Linked DNA regions of Homo sapiens: region 2 is linked to region 1. Evidence: promoter capture Hi-C in human tissues and cell types (Jung and others, 2019). All regions are on one chromosome and are shown on one strand. Each heading gives the region's core, a stretch centred on a gene start or on the middle of the fragment in contact. The rest is flanking DNA. Distances are from core to core; before and after follow the strand shown. Region 1 holds the start of MCOLN2 (mucolipin TRP cation channel 2). Region 2 overlaps LINC01461 (long intergenic non-protein coding RNA 1461).

Region 1 (5,883 bases), core at 580-3,079:
AAACATCCTCCCCTCATCCCCCCACCTGTCCGTGGAAAATATCATCTTCCATGGAACCAGTCCCTGGTGCCAAAAGGTTGGGGTCTTACTATGTTGCCCAGGCTGGAGTGCAGTTACTATTCACAAAGCTGGATGATTGCGCACCTCCGATGAAAGGGGCTCAAAACCAAGGCATTTCTGCCTAATAACCCCTTGGAAGTGCCTTAAAAGAGGGTCAATTATGTGTGCTTTTATATACATCGTCTGTCCAACTGCTTCTGCCTGGACACGCATATTAAAATAATTACCTGGCAGAATATTCTTTGCCTGAGCTAAACCCGGAGATCTTTTAAACGCTTGCAGACTCACAGAGCCTGGCACTGCGGACTTTGCTGCTGCTACCTCGTGAAAAGGAGGGGTACGAGCTCTAGGAGGCTGTCGGCCACGTCCAAACTACCAAGCTAACATCACTAGGAGCCGAACACGGCTTTTGGTCATGTACTGACGACTCTCATCTCTAAGATTCACGAACGGCGACCGATTGTCTGTTCGATTTCCCACAGGCGTCTTCCTTTCGTGCACCAAGAGGGAAAAGCAACGGCGGCTGCAGCAGGGCGCTGGGGTTACGAGTCCAGCCCTGGGGCCGTGCGCCCTCCCTCCGCGCCCGCCGGGCCACGCTGACGCTCCCTCCCGGCTCCCTGCCTTTCATCCCGACGCGGGCGCAGGGCAACTCGCTTTTCCTATTCCTTGCGCGCCGGTCGCACTTTCTAACATCTCAGAAATATGGCCCTTGTCACAGACTTTCATGATCGTGCACTTTAGAGAAAAGCCAGAATGAATGAACTTGTCAGTTTAATGTGAAGTCCTCAAGGGAAAGGACCATGTCTTTGTCATCCCAGAGACCACAGTACCCAACGGTCGGCTTGGCTCTCAGTGAGTGTTTCCCTAAGCATCAAAACAGGAATGACCAAAGCAACGGACAAATTAATGCATGTGGAAACAAGAAATGAATGCATGAGAGAGTGAAGAAAAGAAGGGGCCAGGCGCAGCGGCTTACACCTGTAATCCTAGCACTTTGGGAGGCGGAGGCAGGAGAATCGCTTGGGTCCAGGAGTTCAAGACTGCAGTCAGCAGTGATCGCAGGTCAGGCGACAGAGTGAGACCCGGTCTCACCACCACCCCCCCGAAAAAGGCAGGAACCCCAGAGGGCCGGGAGTGCCAGGTGCGGCCGCCCGGGAGCGGTGTGGAGGGTGCGTGGGCCACTTTGCCGCAGGGCCCACCGCCCGGGTCCCTCTGTAAGGCGCTTCTCCGGCAGACACCCCGAGCCAAAGCGGGCCGTACCGCAGCGTTGGGCACTTGGGTGGAGAGTGCAAGGGCGGCGGGCCTGCGCCCAGACAGGTGTAGCCGTCCCACGCTAGGTGTCCTCCTGCCGCTCCCTGGCCGCGCCATGCCTCGAGGCATGGAGGTGCTGGACCTGCCGGTGTGCAACCGCGCCTCGGGCCTGTCCTGGGGGCCGCACCACAGGTCAGTGCCCCACGGCGCCCTTGGCGTGCCCCACGCCTCCCTGGGGGCCCCACCGCCGCCCCCTTTTGGGACTGCTTACTTCCTCGGCTCTTCTCGCGCGCGCCTCGGTTCCATCCCCTACGGCCCCCACCCCGCCTCCGCGTCGCCGACCCCCTTCTCCGGGAGCGCGGGGAGGCTGGTCCGCTGAAGCGTGGAATAAGTCCCCTAGGACCCCAACTGGGGAAGCTCCGGTCCCCGGTAGGAGGCGGCGGGGCGGGGCGGGGCGGGGCAGCCCCTTGGGGGCGGGGCGGGAGCGCCTGGCCACGCGCCGCATCCTGCAGGGTGCACACAGAGCCGCCTTTCAGCCGCCCGAGAACTGCCCGCCGCACTCCACGACTGCGGCGCCTGCTCTCGGGCCGGGGTCTGCGCGCACCACGCGGCCGGCAGAAAGGGTAAGAGAAGGGAACCCCGCTTTGCAGGGCTCCAACTTCGGCGGACGCGTTACGGCGAGGGCGAAATGAGTCGGCCGTGAACGGTGTTTCCTGTTCCGAATCCCGAGAGCCCTGGAAAGTTTTGAAGGAGGAGGCATGGCCCGGCAGCCTTATCGTTTTCCCCAGGCAAGGATTCCGGAGAGAGGATCAGGTGTTTTCAGGTTAACCGTCAGGTGAGGAGTCTGGGCTTCATCTTTCAGGATGCTGGACTGGAGAAATCTTCCTAAAGTCGATGGCTTTACTTTCGTAGACTAGAGCTTGCTTGCTGCCTTGGGAATGCTTATATTAACTGCTTGCAGTTAGTTAAATAAGGCTAGGCTGTGCCTTCCAGAACAAACAGGCCTTTCCCTCAGGTGGGAGGGTTGTAGTGTGGCTAACCCCAGTTCCTCGGCCTTTATGAAAAGGCGCACAGTTCAGCCGGTTGGCGCTGCCAGCGGGCCCCTCCTCCGTGGTCAAACCTCCAGCCACCCCAGCACAGTTGAGCCAAAGTTGTGAGTACAAACAGACCTTGGCTCCCCCGTTTCCTGCTCTCCAAACATATATATATATATATATATATATATATATATATATATGAAATATATACGTATGTGTAAGTGTGTGTGTCTCTGGTTGAACGGTACTTGTGGGAAACAAAATTGTGTGTCATTGTAAACTGAGAATGGAAGAAAAGGTTAGTAAGAGAAAGGTGGGAGAGGTTTCTTATGGGTGTCAGGATGTAGACTCTGATATTTTATGTAGAGGGAACCAACTACGTAGTTCTCCCCAGAAATGGGATGTGGGTTTCACTCTCAGGAGCTGCTCATCACCTTTGTGATGTGCTAACCAAAATCGCACAACTTTTGGGAAATTTGATAGCTTTCCCCTATTGAGTCAGAAGTTTCTTGAGACTTTAGCCTGTCTTCCTCTTCATACCTTAAGAGGAGTCAAACTCCCGTTGCCGTGAACTTTCCACAGGCACACCCTTCTCCTTTAGAAAACCGTTCATAGGTCAGTTTCTGTGGCCGGAACTCTAAAAACGACACATTTTCCATACAGAGGCCATCATAATACCAATTTTATTTAACCTCCTGTAATAAAAAATGAGTGAATCCTAATAAAGTGTTTGAGGTAGCCACATTCTTTTCTGTGAAGGAGGAACATATCAAAAGTGTTTTTTTTTAAAAAAATAGAGTAATAGATATAAAATATTTTAATGAAGCAAGTGAGAAGAACTGAGAGACATAGTTTGAGCAAAGGGGCACGAAATACAGAACTGAAAGTCAAGAATGATCATATTCACAAGCTGATCTCTTTGGCTATGTCTCTGTCAGTGAAGTGAAACCTAGAACAAGACAATTTTAAAACCGGCGGAAAAAGAGATGGCTTCTTGTGACTATAGCTTTCAAAGTAAAAGTAGTGGCCAAAGAAAACTCTTCTGGCTGTAAAAGTAAAAGTGGACTTTCCTGAAGCTGGGCTGTTTTCTTTAAGGCCTAGGGTCTAAGTTCCGTGTGTCAGTTCTGAAGAATTAAATCACTCTTTAGTGAGCTCTTGTGTCACATGTTAAGGGGTTCATAGAAAAAAGTGCAGGCATACCTTGTTTTATTGTTCTTTGCTTTATTGCACTTTGTAGATACTGCATTTAATTCAATTTTATTTTATTTTACAAATTGAAGGTTTGTGGCAACCCTGTGTCCAGCAAGTCTATTGGTGCCATTTTTCCAACAGCATGTGCTCACTTTGTGTCTCTATGTCACATTGTGGCAATTCTCTCAATATTTCAAACTTTTTCATCATTATTATTATATCTGTTATGGTGATCTGTGACCACTGATCTTTGATGTGACTACTGTAATTGTTTTGGGGTGCCATGAACTGTGCCCATATAAGACAGGGAACTCAATTAATAAATGTTGTATGTGTTCTGACTACTCCACCGACCAGCCATTCTTCTATCTCTTTTCCTCTCCCCAACCCTCTCTATTCCCTGAGACACCACAATATTGAAATTAGCCCAACTAATAACCCTACAGTGGTCTCTAAGTGTTTGAGTGCAAGGGACAATCACAGGTCTCTTACTTTAAAGGTAGGAGTGATTAAGCTTAGTGAGGAAGGTATGTTGAAAGCTGAGACAGACCAAAAGCTAGGCATTTTGTGCCATTTAGCCAAGTTTTGAATGCATATGAGATGTTCTTGAAGGAAATTATAAGTGCTACTCCAGTGAAAATACAAATGATAAGGAAGCAAAACAGCCTTATTGCTGTTATGGAGAAAGTTTTTGTGGTCTGGATAGAAGATCAAACCAGCACCAACATTCACTAAAGCTAAAGCATAATCTAGAGCAGGCCCAAACTCTCTTCAATTCTGTGAAGGCTGAGAGAGGTAATGAAGCTGCAGAAGAAAAGTTTCAAGCTAGCAGAGGTTGGTTCATGAGCTTTAAGAAAGGAAGCCATCTCTATAACATGTAAGTGCAAGGCGAAGCAGAAAGTGCTGATATAGAAGCTGCAGCAAGTTAGTTGGAAGATGTAGCTAAGATCATTGATGAAGGAGGCTACTCTAAACAACAGATTTTCAATGTAGACAAAACAGCCTTCTATTGGCAGGAGATGCCATCTAGGACTTTCCTAGTAGAGAGGACAAGCCAGCATCTGATTTCAAAGGTGCAAAGGACAGGATGACTCTCTAGTTAGGAACTAGTACAGCTGGTGACTTTTAAGTTGAAGCCAGTGCTCATTTACCATTCCAAAAATCCTAGGGCACTTAAGAATTATGTTAATCTACTCTGCCTCTGCTTTGTAAATGGAACAACAAAGCCTAGATGACAGTACACTTGTTTACAGCATGATTTACTGAATATTTTAAGCTCATGGTTGAGACCTACTGCTCAGAAAAAAAGATTTCTTTCAAAATATTACTGCTCATTGATAATACCTCTGATCATTGAAAAGTTCTGATGGAGATGTACAAGGAGATGAATGTTGTTTTCATATATGTTAACACAACATCCATTCTGCAGCCCATGGATCAAGGAGTAATTTCAACTTTCAAGACTTATTATTTGGCCGGGCGCGGTGGCTCACACCTGTAATCCCAGCACTTTGGGAGGCCGAGGCGGGTGGATCATGAGGTCAGGAGATCGAGACCATCCTGGCTAACAAGGTGAAACCCCGTCTCTACTAAAAATACAAAAAATTAGCCGGGCGTGGTGGCGGGCGCCTGTAGTCCCAGCTACTCGGGAGGCTGAGGCAGGAGAATGGCGTGAACCCGGGAGGCGGAGCTTGCAGTGAGCCGAGATTGCGCCACTGCAGTCCGCAGTCCGGCCTGGGCGACAGAGCGAGACTCCGTCTCAAAAAAAAAAAAAAAAAAAAAAGACATTATTTAAGAACTACATTTTGTAACATTATAGGTTGCCATCGAAAATTATTCCTCTGATGAATCTGGACAAAGTAAACCCTTCTGGAAAGGATTCATCATCATGGATGCCATTAAGAATATTCATGATTCATGGGAATAGGTCAAAATATTAACATTAACAGGAGTTTGGAAGAAGTTGATTTTATCCCTCATGGATGACTTTGAAGGGGTCCAGATTTCAGTAGAGGAAGTATTAGGTCAGTGAAAAAGTAATTGTGGGTTTTGTCCTTACTTTTAATGGCAAAAAAACACAATTACTTTTGCAGCGATCTGCTAACCACAGATGTGGTGGAAATACCCAGAAAACTAGAAGAGAAGCCTGAAGATGTGACAGAATTGCTGCAATCTCATGATCAAACTAGAATGGATGAGGAGTTGTTTGTTATGGATGAGCAACGAAAGTGGTTTCTTGAGATGGAATCTACTCTTGGTGAAGATGCTATGAACATTGTTGAAATGACAACACATAATTTAGCATATTCCGTAAACATAGTTGATAAAACAGCAGCAAGGTTTG
Region 2 (6,313 bases), core at 625-3,124, 380 kb after region 1:
TCGCACACCTCCTGAATTGGTACCTCCAGCCCTGACTTCTCTTCAGTGCTCCAGACACATGTATTTCTCTGCTCGCCAAACATCTTCCACACAACAAGCACTTTAAACTGAAAATATTCCAAATCAAACTAATCACATTCTGCTTGCTATCAGCAGCCTTCTTCACTCTCTGATTCCTTTATTTTGGTTAGTAGCAGTGTCATTTACCAAACTGCTCCAGCCAAAAACCCTGGTGTCAGCCTAAACTCCACACTCTTCTTTCACCTCCATTGTCTAATAGTCACCAAAGTCTGTCCCCTCCTACCCTAGCATATCTCACCCTTCCATTCTCTTGTTTCCATCCCATTGTCACTGCCCTATTTCAGGCTCTCATCACTTCTCACCTGGACTAGGGCAACTGCTTTCTTGTTTCCATTAAAAATTTTTATTTATAATTGATAATAAGTATACATGTCTGTGGGTACAGTGTAATGTTTCAATACATGTATATATTATGTAATGATCAAATCAGAATAGTTGTCCATCACTTCAAGCCTTTATCATTTTTTTGTGATAACTTTAAAGGTGTTTCCTAGGTATCTTGCAATGTACAAAGCAGTTATTATTGTTATTAGCTATAGTCACCCTACTATGTACAGAATACGAGAAATTAGTTTTCCTATCTAACTGTAACATCCCCTCCGGAGCCTTTGGTCACCATTGTTCTACCCTCTGCTTCTATGAGATCAGCTTTTATAGATTCCACATGTGAGTGAGATCATTTGTCTTTCTGTGCTTGGCTTATTTCACTTAACATGATGTCCTCCAGGTTCATCCTCGCTGTTGCAAATGACAGGATTTTGTCCCTATTTATGACTGAATAGTATTGCATATATATGGAGATATATATATATATATCTCACATTTTCTTTATCCATTCATGCACTGATGGATACTTAGCTTGATTTCATCTCTTGGCTATTGTGCTAAGCCCTTACTATAGTGTTGCAGTGAACATGGGAGTGCCAATATCTCTTTTGACTTATTGATTTCCATTCCTTTGGATATATATCCAGTAGTGGAATTGCTGAATCATACAGCAGTCCTATTTTTAATTTTTTGAGGAACTTCCGTATTGTTTTCCATAGTGTCTATGCTAATTTACATTCCCACCAACAGCATATGAGTTCCCCTTTCTTCACATCCTCAACAGTAATTGTTATTTTTTGTCTTTTTTTTTTTTTTTGCCATTCTAACTGGGGTGCAGTGATATCTCATTGTGGTTTTCATTTGCATTTCCCTAATGATTACTGATGTTGAGCATTTTTTCATATACATATATATATATATATATATGTATGTATGTCTTCTTTTGAGAAATGTCTACTCAGGTCTTATTCCCATTTTCGATTGGATTATATGGGCTTTTTTTTTTCTTTTGCTATTGAGTTGTTTGAATTTCTTACATATTCTGTTTCTTTTTTCTTTCTTTTTTTTTTTTGAGATGAAGTCTCACTCTTTTCACCCAGGCTGGAGTGCAGTGGTGTGATCTTGGCTCACTGCAACCTCTGTCTCCTGGGTTCAAGCAATTCTCCTACCTCAGCCTCCCAAGTAGCTGGGATTACAGGTGCCCACCACCATACCCACCTAGTTTTTGCATTTTTAGTAGAGACGGGTTTTCACCACATTGGGCAGGCTGGTCTCGATCTCCTAACCTCAGGTGATCCACCCACCTCGGCCTCCCAAAGTGCTAGAATTGAATTTCTTACATATTCTGAATATTAACCCATTACACCAGTGCATAGTTTGCAGACATTTTTTTCCAATTTTGTAGGTTGCCTCTTTGTTGATGGTTTCCTTTGCTGTGCATAAGCTTTACAGTTTAATGTAATCCCATTTGTCTATTTTTGCTTTTGTTGCCTGTGCTTTCGAGGTTTTTTCCAAAAAATTCTTGCCCAGACCAATGTCATGAAGCATTTCTCCTATGTTGTACTCTAGTAGTTTTATAGTTTTAGGTCTTCCGTTTACATCTTCATTCCATTTTGAGTTGATTTTTGTATATGGTGAGAAATAGGTGTCTAGTTTCATTCTTCTGCATGTGGATATCCAGCTTCCCCAGCACCATTTATTGAAGAAACTGTCATTTTGGGGTAACTGCTTTCTAACAGGTCTCTGGGGTTTGGTATTACTGCGCCAGAACCCTTTCATATAGCTGTCAGAGAGATGGCAGTGGAACAGCTCAGTTTATATCTCTCTGCTCTTTAAACCTATCTGATGATTCTTCATTGCCAGTAGGATAAAGTCCAAACACCTTGGCTTGTCATATCAAGTCCTTTCCCATCTGGTGCCCATCATCCCAGCTACCTCCTCTGATACTCTCTACCATGCATCCTATGATTGCCTCCCAATTTTACATTCTCTTCATCTTCCTGATTAAAATAGTGATTGCTGATTACATGTCCTCTCTTTTGCAGTTAGATGTGGCCAGGTGACAAAGTTCTGTACAGTGGAATGTAAACAGAAGTATCATGTGAGAGTTTCCAAGAACTTTTTCAGGAGGGAGGAAACACATGTCCTTTGCCCTCCCTTTTTGTTTGCTGCCTTCTCCATCCTATAGCCTGGAATACAGACATGATGGCTACCATCTTGGACTATGAACATGAGGATCACACCCAAGGGAAGGAGAGGCAGCAAGCTGGAAGGTACTATGGAGCAGAACTGCCACAGCCTGAGTACCTACCTCTGGAACTTTCTGTGAGAAATGAAATGGGCCCAACAGTTCCATAAACAGTTGTTTTGGGATAAACATAGAAATGGCCCCTAGCTTGAAATTTGCATTTGTTTTATCTGAGTTCCCTCCTCAGGAAAGGACCTTCAGGCCTCTCAAAAAAGTATCAAGAGAACTGACACCAGATGCCTCCTTGCCCCTCCCTAGTTCCTGTTTTCTTAAACATTGTTACATATCTTCCCTGCTATGTAAGCCCCTAGATTTAGTCAGTCAGGGAGATGGATTTGAGACTGAGCTCTCATAACTTGGCTGCAGCACCCGATTAAAGCCTTCTTCCTTGGCAATACTTATTGTCTCAGTGATTGGCTTTCTGTGCGTCAGTACCTAGACTGAACCCCTGGTGTTTCCATAACTTGGTCAAGCCACTGTTATTCTGAGTATCTGTCCCTTGCTGCTGTGCCTAATCCTAATTGACACAGAATTTGGTACCAGATCTGGGATGCTACAGGTCACTCCATGCTTATGTTTTTCTTTCTTTATGTTCATAAGAATTCAAGAAGCTAGCCAACCCCACTATCTTTGAATTATTCACTCTTGCCATGAAGATTTATTACCATAGCCACTTGGCCTTCCAGCGTTTTGATTTCCATGGATACTTTTTCTCCCAGGTGACTACAAGTGACAATGTATTTATTTTGAGATGGATTTTCACTCTTCTTGCCCAGGCTGGAGTGCAATGGTGCGATCTTGGCTCACTGCAACTTCTGGCTCCTGGGTTCGAGAGATTCTCCTGCCTCAGCCTCCTGAGTAGCTGGGATTACAGGCATCTGCAACCACTCCTGGCTAATTTTTGTATTTTTAGTAGAGACGGGGTTTCAGCATGTTGGCCAGGCTGGTCTCAAATTCCTGACCTCAGGTGATCCACCCTCCTCGGCCTCCCAAAGTGCTGGGATTACAGGCATGAACCACCATGCCTGGCCTACAAGTGATAATTTAAATAACTGTTCTGCCACTGCATACCACAGACTGGTAGGCCTTCCAAAGTAGATCTGTTTGGCAGAATCACATCCAGAACCATAGCTTCAAGGAATTCTGGAAACGTGGCTTTATTTCTAGATCTGTAGAACAGGCAGAACACTGGGAACAGATGTTGAGTGAGTCGATCCAGAGTGTCTGGTAAACATGTCTCAATCCAGCCTCATGAGATAAGTCATTCTTTGCCAGACTTGCCAAGATGGTAAGGCTTCCTTTAAGTCATTTCTGCATTTCCTTCTGCCCTGAATCTTATCTTCCTCCCTCCCTCCTTTCTCTGCTTTGTGAGCTTATGCTACTCTTTCAATATCCAAATCCAACATCATCCTTAGCAAAGCAAATCCATGCTGGTTGCTGCTGGCTCTGAGTAGCACTTTGAACAATCTTTGGTTAACATTCTTAGAGGAATCATATTTATTGATTACAGATCTCTTTTTCCTGATAAAATGTGCCCTCCTTGAGAACAGGAATATAAGCAGCTGTCATTGCATCTGACCCTTTCTGCATTTCTATTTGTATTCTCAGTCTGGCAAGGTGGAGTTGCTGAGGCAATGTTTGTCGAACTCGTGAATATTGATAATGGCTCCAAAGCTGCCTCCTCTCTTAGACCAGAGGGTTAAGAGTATGTAGACTCCGGCTATGTGGTAGCTCATGCCTCTAATCTCACTGAAGGAGCCTCATTGTCTGGGGTAAATACCAGGGTCCTTGGTCTCACAGTCAAGGAAATTGAGGTCACAGACACACACACAGAGTGAGATTGGAGCAGGAGTTTAATAGGCAAAAGGAAAGAACAGCTCTCTGTCACAGAGAGGGGTCCAGAGCAGGTTGTCAAGTTTTAGTAAAAATGTCAGGGTTGGCCAGGTACGGTGGCTCACACCTGTAATCTTAGCACTTTGGGAGGCTGAGGCGGGCAGATCACGAGGTCAAGAGATCGAGACCATCCTGGCCAACATGGTGAAACCCTGTCTCTACTAAAAATACAAAAATTAGCTGGGTGTGGTGGTGCGTACCTGTAGTCCCAGCTACTCGGAAGGCTGAGGCAGGAGAATTGCTTGAACCTGGGAGGCGGAGGTTGCAGTGAGCCAAGATCATGCCACTGCACTCCAGCCTGGCGACAGAGCAACTCTCTCTTAAAAAAAAAAAAGAAAAAAAAGAGGGAGTGTCTTATCTTCCTAAGGCCTGAAGATTTAGTTGGGACCAGGTGTCCTATGTGCATAGAGCAGAGTTTTCTATCAGTTCTTACCTCATTTCCTTGATCACATAGGCAGACTCAGTCCTTGCTGCTTTGTGCTGCTTTGTTTTGCTTATCTGGGAGGGAGAGTTTCTGTGTCTGTTCCCAGACATCTTCCTGCAGCTGCAGGCATCTCCCCACAATCCGCTTTTAGTTTCTCTATCTTAGTGTGCTTAAAGGGAAAGGAATGTGCTTATTAAGGCCCACGGTTTTTACTGGGGTCCATTGTAGGAGTGTGAAGTTTGGTGATTACCCAGGGGACTCCCCCTGTCCTTCTGTGCCCGAGTTGTTTGTTTTTACAGCCTGATCTTTCAAGCTGTTCTTTGTTAGAAGAGAAGTGATTTCTTTGAACTGCATGAGGTTAGAAAGAGAGCTATTTCTGAGCTGCTTTTTGTTAGAAGAAAAGTTTCTGCTGGGGACTCGCTTTACCCTAACTGTCTACCTAAATAAATTCTGTCTGTCTTGTATAACATATTTCCCCCTCAGGAATGGAATCCCTAACTGCTGTTAGGGGGAATTGGGCAACAACTTCTTCTGGCTACTTCCCGCTGGAGAGGGCGTGGTACGGGAACAGCATCTAGGGCTCCTCCTGGGGTCGATCTAAGGGTCCCTGGTAGAAGGGTGGTTTCCTTTTTGGCTCCATTTGCAGCACCATCTGAAGCTTGATGGTTTCTAGGTGAGAAGAGAAACTTTACAAGGAGGTTTAGAATATAGGGTCCAAATATATATAAGACTACCATTATTAGTGAGGCACTATAGGCCATAACCATGACAACAGAGTTTGTTTGATATCTGTGAGCCATTTAGATGGGTTGTGCTGTTGTAACTGGGTGTATGGGGCTTGGCTTTGTTTAGCTCCCTTGGTCTTACTGTCCCCGCCAGAAAAGGAAACCTTGGGGTTATAGGTTACCTGGCAGGATTTGCAGCATAAGTGCCCAGAACTAGCACATTGTTCCAGATTTTTATATTACCCATTCCTTTCTGTCTCCTTTGAGCCACAGCTGGAGATTGATGATTGGTTTACAGGAATAAGCATGATTAGTTTAAAATGTTGGCAAGAACTTACAAACAACTAATGAGACTAGAAGTCAATGACAGATTGTATTAGTCCATTTTCACGCTGCTGATAAAGACATACCTGAGACTGGGCAATTTACAAAAGAAGGAGGTTTAATGGACTTACAGTTCCACTTGGATAGGAAGGCCTCACAATCATGGTGGAAGGCAAAAGGCATGTCTTACATGGTGGTGGCAAGAGAGAAATGAGAGCTAAGCAAAACAGGTTTCCCTTTATCAAACCATCAGATCTCATGAGACTTATCTACCATGAGAACAGTATGGGT

What was found. Contacts are between HindIII fragments. The study calls those that stand out against the background at their distance.
Region 2: a contact is called between a fragment that was not itself captured here and the fragment with the promoter of MCOLN2 in region 1, in 1 of the 25 tissues and cell types used here (heart left ventricle).

What each region holds. Positions count from the first base shown.
Region 1 is chr1:84,993,059-84,998,941 of GRCh38, reverse strand. It overlaps MCOLN2 (mucolipin TRP cation channel 2), which reads left to right and starts at 1,829. Exons shown (of 14, transcript NM_153259.4): 1 at 1,829-2,146. The coding sequence starts at 2,070. RefSeq lists enhancers at 95-966, 3,287-3,346 and silencers at 1,537-1,826, 2,437-2,486. The HindIII fragment of the contact is 9,976 bases long and covers 1-5,883 here.
Region 2 is chr1:84,610,808-84,617,120 of GRCh38, reverse strand. All of the region lies in intron 2 of LINC01461 (long intergenic non-protein coding RNA 1461), which reads left to right. Among named protein-coding and RNA genes, the nearest start is that of LINC01461, 7.1 kb to the left of the region's middle. The HindIII fragment of the contact is 3,736 bases long and covers 7-3,742 here.